Regions from separate parts of the Homo sapiens genome. Here region 2 is linked to region 1. The links are contacts of gene promoters, found by promoter capture Hi-C in human tissues and cell types (Jung and others, 2019). All regions are on one chromosome and are shown on one strand. Each heading gives the region's core, a stretch centred on a gene start or on the middle of the fragment in contact. The rest is flanking DNA. Distances are from core to core; before and after follow the strand shown. Region 1 holds the start of SDK2 (sidekick cell adhesion molecule 2). Region 2 overlaps LINC00469 (long intergenic non-protein coding RNA 469).

Region 1 (3,828 bases), core at 935-3,434:
CCAGCCAGAGGGGCTTCAGCTGGGGATGGAGCAGGTTGCCAGGGGGAAATGTTGTTTGAATTAGGTGATTGAAACGCTGTAGGCAAGGCAGGCCAGCTTCTCAGACATTTTTAATAAATGCTTACGGTTCTTCTTCCAAAGCAGGTGAAAGGAGAATATATAAGTAACGATATATTTGCGGTGGCTATGCCTATTCCACAGCAATCACAAGGGGTGTCCTTGGGGTGGGAGTGCGCCTGGGAAAGAGTTGGCAATCAGTGAGTGACAGTCCTAGACTTCAAGGACCAGAAAGACTAGGCAGCCGTGGGGGACCAGACTAAGTAGGACCACGAGAGAGAGTAGAGAGAAGCACTGTGGCAAAAGATGGAGGGTCTCACTAGCTCTTTATTTCCCAGAAGAAATATCAGACACGCAGGGTAGACTTCTGCATTAAGCACCGCAGGCCCAGTGCCAGGGACCATAGTCTTTTGGGGCCCATGAAAATGTTTTGATTTCTTTTAAAATCAGAAAAAAATAAGTAAAGCTTTAGGCTGAAGAACATGTTTTAATATGCAATATTAATATACTTTTCCTTATGCCAACGCAGTTGCAAAATCTTATTTTTAATAATTTTGTTAGCAGGGAAAGGAGTCCACCGAGGCGAAGGCACCTGAAATTTTCCCAGTGCCCGGGAAATTTTAACAGAAGCCTGTTAACCCCAGCTGAGCTTCGTGGAGTAGGCGCTAGCTCTGGGCCACAGCAGAGGACGCCTCCGGGCTCTCTTGTTTGAATTCCTCCACCAATGTCCGGTTCTTCTACTCTTTACAAGCTGGGCTCCGAAGGAAAAAAGAAGAAACAAAGAACGCACGCTCCTTGGCACCAACTTCACTTTCTCAGGCTTCTGCAGGTCCCAGGCCTCCCGATGTCTCCCCCTCCGCCCTGAGCATTTCCAGACCTTGGAGAGCCTGACTTGGGAAGGGGAAACTGGAATCAATCGGTTGACCGACCCCCTTTTCCCAACCGCCGCCTCCCCACCAATCACTCCATGTCCGGAAGGGGGCTGGGGGCTCCCGACTATAGGAGACTCTGGGAGTCCTATGAGGCCTTTGAGACAGGGGCGCGAGCGAGGCTGGAAGGAAAGGCTGGGCAGAGAGCGGAGGGGCTCGCGCGCATCTCTCCCGGCGCGGCAGAAGGTTGGCACTGCTGCCCCCCTGCGGGTCCCAGAGCCGCTGGGCGCCCGCGGCCGCGCAGTCGGATTGTATTTCTGCGGGGCTCGCTCCCGGGCCTGGCTCGGGGCCGCCGCCGCCGCCGCCGCCCCTCCCGGCGCGCAGGCTGCTCTCCAGTCGCGGCCACGGGGTAGCGCTCGGCCCCCCTCTCCGCGTCTCCGCCTCCGCCGCGCTCGTCCCCGGCTCACGCTGCCCCCGCAGCTCCGGCTCGGCGCAGGCAGGAGCGGCTCTCTGGACGCCGAGCCCGGGAAGCGGAGGGCGGCGGGCTCGGCGAGCGGCAGCGGCGGCCGAGGCGCTGGGGCGGCCGTTGCTCCTCCGGCCCGGGAGGTCGGCGATCGCCGGGCGTCCGAAGGGGCGCCGCGTCCCCGGAGCCGGGGCTGCCCGCCGGGCTCTCCGTGCGTCTTCCCGAGAGCTCCGGCCGGGGCGCGGCGGAGGGCAGAGCCGCCGGTCTCCATCCTCGGGCCGGCAGGAGGCTCTGCGCCCGGGCGCCGGCGACAGCCCGCGTCGCGAAGCCCAGCACCCTCCCCCGCCGCCCCGCGGCTGGCGCGGACATGGGCGCTCAGGGCTGCGCGCCCGGCTCCGGGACCCGCAAAGTTTGCTAGCCGGCTGGGCGCGGAGCCGAGGGCGCGCCCGGCCCCAGCGCCCCCGGAGGAGACCCGGCGTCTCCCGATTCGGCGCGAGGGCGGTGGAGCCCAGAGGGGGTGGTTCGGCCCCGCCAGATGCTGCCTGCAAAGTTAGAGAGAAGAAAACTTCAGCTCCAGGGAGATTCGGACCGCTATGCTCACCGCGTCCCCCGAAACCGGCGCCCCTAAAAGAACCCCCGCACCCGCGTCTGCCACTGCGCTCGGCTCTGGCCGGGTCCCGGGGGCCCGGCGCCTGGAACGGCGGTGACTGCGTCGGCCGGGAGAACCCAACCAGGGGGCGGGGAGGGGGCGGGCAACGTGGCCACGGGAGGAAGTTTCCTGAAGTTGTCCATTTATTCCGGAGCTCGGCCGGCGACCCGGCCGGATCGCAGAGGCCGCCCTGTTTGGGAGAAGTCGGAGTTGGGGTGCTAAGGGAGAGAGGCGCCCTAGTCCGAGAGGGCGGCCTGGCCTCTTTCTCCCTGCTCGCCCCTCGCCTTCCGGGCGCGCTGCCGGGCTCGGACTAGTACAGAAGAGGAGGAAGGGTTGGGGTAGCCAAGCGCTGCCCCTCCCGGGCATATTACACCCCGGGGCACGGAGCCGCGTAGACTGACTGTTTCCTGGGACTAAGCCACGGGGTATCGGACCCCACCAGGATTATAAAACAGGGCGGAGGGAAGGGAGACCCCGAGGACCCCTCTCCAGGCTGGTCACCATGTGGGGGCTTTTGATCTGGACACTGCTAGCTCTGCATCAGATCCGCGCGGCCAGAGCCCAAGGTAAGGAGGGACCCCCACGTGGGGACAGGGAGGGGGCTGGGAGAGTGGGCGGGGGAGGGGCGGCGGGAGCTGGCCGGCCTCACGGTGACCTCCTGGACACCCGGCTTAGCCGTGGCAGAGCCCTCTCCAGGGAGTTTCAAGACACCCCATCTCCCAAGTTTTGGGGCTCTTTTGGGGGTGGGGCAGTCTCTCCGAGACTTGTGGCTTCCGAATGGGGGAAGGTGGGGACGACCTGGGGAGGCAGAGAAGAGCCCAAGGTGAAGTGGGAGGGGCGCTCCCCTCCCCCCGTCTGCTGTGGCTGCCCTGCGCCGGCTTGGGAGGGGAGCGACATTCCGTGCCGGGCTCCACGCTCGGCTACGCTGAGCTTCCCAGACCGAGCTCCTGGTTCCCTGCTCGGTGTCTGCGGGGAAGGGCAGGGCCCCTGCCGGGCAGGCGATGGCCTCCCCGGGGCGAGGGAGTGGGGTGGGCGAGCGCTGGATGCCGGGTTGCTCGCCCGGGGAGAGCAATTGCCCGGCTTGGCCACGTACGGGAGCCCGCCCCTGGCTGCTCGGCCAGCCGCTGGGGCTGGGGGTGCTTCGCTGCGCGGGCCTGGAGCCAAGGTCGCGGGTGCAGCCGCGGACCCACCGGGGGGTGGTGCACAGGGAGGGTCTGAGGCCTCCCCTCCTACCCATCCACCCACACCCAGCATCCCCGCCCCTGCCTCCAGCCTCCGCTGTTCGCTCGATAGTCTGTGCAGCCGCTCGCTGCTGTGACCTGTGGCTGCCGGGAGCAGCCTCGCGGTGGAGAAGGGCTGGTGGCTTTGGGTTTGGGAGTGCTACGAAGGATCCGAGGTGTGATCTGCGCTGCCCGCTTCCTGAGGGTGGATGCCCAGACGTCCCCCTGGTCCCCGGGCAGGTCCCCGAGGTGAAGGGCGGCTGCACCGGCGGTTCCTCGACTTTGGGGTTCGCCGATCCAGACAGTGGTGTCAGCGGTGTCCGAGCGGCGCCTGCTGGGGGCGGAGGGAGACGAAGCCTGGACCGAGCTCCAGGACTCGCAGGGCTAGGCCTTCACTCTCGCAGGCTCAGGAGGGGGCCAGACCCACCCTAGGGGTCCGGACTGTGGGGGCTGCAACCCACTCCCCACGCCGCCTCGTGCGCCAGGCAATCCAGAGAGCCAAGATCAAAGAGATGAAAATAATCAGCTCTCACTCACAGGGCTGAGGGGAGGATTTTACGAGGTAATTTA
Region 2 (3,828 bases), core at 394-2,893, 160 kb before region 1:
GTGTGCAACGGTGAGCTCTCCCAACAGGGAACAATTCTATTTTTGCTATCTGTGCTGCTCAACTGACACTGAGCAGACCACACCTTGTAGTATTAGCTTTTTATGTGCACTCACTTAAATTTATGTGATTAAATTAAAGGCGGTAATGTGTGTGAGGACACCTCTATCTAGCACTTTAGACTCGGTATCATAATTGTCGGTCGGCTTGTGTGTCTTCCCACTAAGCTGTGATCTCCTTGCAGACAGAAACATCATCTGTCATCTCTGTCTCCAGCACCTGGCACCCAGTAGGTGCTCAGCAACACTGGAACACACTAATATCTGAAGGCACTCTGTGAAATGTAAAGCACTGAACACACTTAGAGCATGGTAATGATGAGTTTGAATGATGATGCTGTTTACAAGTCATCTCCCTAGCAAGGGCTGCATTTTCTTCCTCCGGGAGCACATCAGAATACTCAGCCCGTGTACATGGTGGGCAGTGCCTATACCTGGGGCTGAATTTTAAGGAGCCTCCGGTTACCTCCTGCTCTGCCGCTTAAGAGCTGGGTAATCTGGGCAACTTCCTGTCTTCGCTGAGTCTACTTTCCCATCTAAAGAATGGAAGCCTGGGCAGCTTGATTCCAAGGTGCCGTGGAAGGCCTTAGGTCTCAGCAAGGGGGCTGCGTCAGCAGCAGGGGCCAGGGAGGGCTTGGGTGTCATTTGATGTACACAAGTGCCACCTATTCCACAAGAAGACTGCAGGGCAGGGGAGAAGGGCTGGGGGATCAGCAATCAACAACAACACAGCTGTGACAGGGAGGAAGCTCAGAGCAGAACCAATCTCCCTTTAACATTCCAGGCCAGCGGTGTGTGCCTTGGATAAAGTTCAGGTAATTGTGCCTTCAGCCTGCCTCCTCCCCTCCCCCACCTTTCCCCTGCTCTGTGCTGACAGAGTTATAATAATTGGGTGCCGCTGCTTAAACTCATCAGCTCCAGCTTCCTGAAAGGAAAGTTGCAATTAGCAGTCCTCACCCTGTAATAAAGCCTTTAATATCCACTTTCATGGTTCATATTACAGTCATTCAGGCCTGTCCCCTTGCACACAGCCTGTCAGGCAGTGGGGCTGTGTGCCCATGAGGGAGCTGCCCGCTGAATGGCTCAGCAAACAATTGCTCCCAAGGCCCAGCAATCCTGGCCAGGCAGCTGGGGAATGGTGCCGGGAAATGAGAAGGGATATTTCTGTGCTCCATGGCTCCAGAGGGCCAATGGGGAATGGGAGGGAGAAAGGAAGGGGCTTCCTCTCCCTTTGCCTCCCACCAACCCTCCAAACTTTCCCACACTCTTCCCTCTTTCATGGAGCCACCTTTCATTCCACTGCTGGAAATTTTAAAACAGGAGCAAGAAGGTAGAGGTGGTATTGGGGAGAATCAAAGGGCTTCACCTGTGCACACCTGCCAGCAGGTAACAGATCTTACATGGGAGAGGCGTCCTGAATGGCAGCAGTGAGGGCCAGGTATGTTTTAGTTGAGGAGTAGCTTCAGCCAGGGCTTCTGCCCACAATTGCCTGAGTGGTGGCCATCCTGGGAAGTCACTTCCTGCTCTGGAAAGAACATTCCTTGCTATGGGTTAGCAGGTCATACTCAGTCTCTCACTTCCTCAGTGAGTAATTTGCAAGCAATTAATGAGAACCAACTATGTGCGAAGCACAAAGATAAGTAAAAGATAGCCCATGCCCTCAATGAACTAAACTAAAAAATAATGACAGCACATATGGTGGGGAATACTAGCAAGAGGCACAGGAGTAGCCTGGAGGAGGGAAAGGGACATCCAAGGACTTCTTGGAGGAGGGGCTGTCATATGTGGCAGATTATATTTTCCCTCAGTGGCTGCAACAATATTTCCATCCCACATGCTCTCTTCAGAACCTTGCCATTCCCTCATCACGAAGTGAAATATCCCCTTCCTTTGAACCTGGGCAGGCCCTTGTGACAACCTTGATGAGTAGACTGTAGCAGCAGTGATGCTACAGGACTTCCAAGGTTAGGTTAGAAAAGGTCAAGAAGCTTCTGCTGATCTTTCTCTCTCAGTATGCTTGCTCTAACAACATGGCCACCATGTTGGGAGGAAGCCCAAGCCACATGAAGAGCCTATGTGTAGGTGGTACCCACTGACCCAGGCAGACATGTGAGTGAGAAAGTCCTCAAGATGACTCCAGCCCAGCCACTGTCTGACTGCAGCCATATGAGAGACCACGAACAAGAACAGAACCCAGTTCTGAGCCCAGTCAAGCCCAGAACTATAAGATATGGTAATAAAATGATTGTTGTTTTAAGCCACTAAGTTTGGGGTTATTCATTACATAGTGATAGATCATCAGAATAGTGATTCTTAGATTACAATAGAGGTTGACCAGATGGCGGATGAATGATGCTCCAGGCAACAGGGACAACACATGCAAGGCACAAAAGCATGAGATGGGGCCTTTGATTAGAGACACAGGAGCTGGTATTGCCATGGGTGCCTGCTGGAGATGGTGTTGGAGGGTGTACAAACCATGTAAAATTAGGCAGCATGGGGTGAAACTATCCTGGAAGTCACGGCATGTTATGGAGGTTTTCAAGCAAGACAAAGATATAATTATCTCTGGATTTTAGGAGAAGGACCACTAGCAATGTGGACAATGGAACGGCCTGAGATGGGGCTTATTCATTCAGTAAATATTTGCTGCCATTTACCCAAGTGCCAGCCTCTGGGCGAGCTCAGTAGGGAGGATGTACAGATGAAAGACTACCCGATGAATCTGCTCAAGAAAGGAAGACAGTGTCAGTGAAGACAGGAAAGAGAGTCCTGGGCTATTTTGGGCATAAGATCAGTTTTGTGGCCAGATGAGTATGAGATATAAAGAGAAAGGGGATTCTGGAAAGCCTCTTGGATTTCTGAATTATGAGAGTAGGGGAATGCCAGTCCCTGAAATAGAAAATAGGAGGAGAAGCAGGTTTAGTGGGGAAGATAAAGGGCTCCATTTGGGCACAGTGATTCTTAAGTAGATAAAGATGTCCCACTGCCAGCTGTATTTACAAATTCTGGAGCTCAGAAGCAAGGGTTGGGATTTAAAGACAGATATAAAATTTATCTGTGCAATCAAACCATAGGAGGGCCCAGAAAATGGGAAGAGAGGAGGGCCAAGGGCAAAATGCTGGAGGGGGCCAGTGTTTAAGGGTGGCAAGAGGGAGAGGAGCAAGAGGAAAAGATGAGGAGAGGCGGGTGCCAAGGATGGAGCCTGGCCAGGTGGGCGTGGCCAGGGATGGCACACCATGCACATGGCAGCATGGGCGCCCGCCTTCTGGATTCCATTATGTGTGTGGCGATGGGAGGAGCAGGGAGGCTGGGCACGGCAGGGAGCCAATGGGAGTGGAAGGGAGAAGACAGGCATTTCTCTCCTGGGAGAGAGTAAATTGGGCATCTATCTGTTGGGCGAGGCATTCTTAACTGTGGGGGAAAAAGGCTGGATAGGATGACACCGCTCACCTCTTGGCTGAGTGGCTGATGTGCTCAGGACATTGGGCAGCAGGGATGTTGGAGGCCAGCCAGGCCAGCTGTCCTCCACTGGTGCCCTTCTACAGGTGAGGACATGGAGATTCAGAGACAAAGTGACTTTTGGTCTTTGGGCTAGAAGAGTGAGGACTAGAACCTAGGGTCCCAGCCTCCCAGATCAATATTCTCACTCTACATCCTTGCAAAACAAGGATAGCAGAAAGGCTGAAGTGCTAGGCTATTCTGGGTCTTGGGGCGAACATTTAAGCCCTAGGCCTGTCCCCTCTCATCCCTTCTCCCTCCTCCGGCAGA

What was found. The method cuts DNA at HindIII sites, captures the fragments that hold promoters and counts their contacts. A contact is called where the count stands out against the background at its distance.
Region 2: a fragment that was not itself captured here is called in contact with the fragment with the promoter of SDK2 in region 1 in 5 of the 25 tissues and cell types used here (IMR-90 fibroblasts, aorta, mesendoderm cells and 2 more).

Annotation. Positions count from the first base shown.
Region 1 is chr17:73,642,801-73,646,628 of GRCh38, reverse strand. SDK2 (sidekick cell adhesion molecule 2) reads left to right here and starts at 2,184. Exons shown (of 45, transcript NM_001144952.2): 1 at 2,184-2,604. The coding sequence starts at 2,541. LOC124904054 (a long non-coding RNA gene) reads right to left here and starts at 1,155. Exons shown (of 2, transcript XR_007065893.1): 1 at 935-1,155; 2 at 525-808. The HindIII fragment of the contact is 11,047 bases long and covers 1-3,828 here.
Region 2 is chr17:73,801,383-73,805,210 of GRCh38, reverse strand. All of the region lies in intron 2 of LINC00469 (long intergenic non-protein coding RNA 469), which reads left to right. Among named protein-coding and RNA genes, the nearest start is that of LINC02092, 16 kb to the right of the region's middle. The HindIII fragment of the contact is 8,376 bases long and covers 1-3,828 here.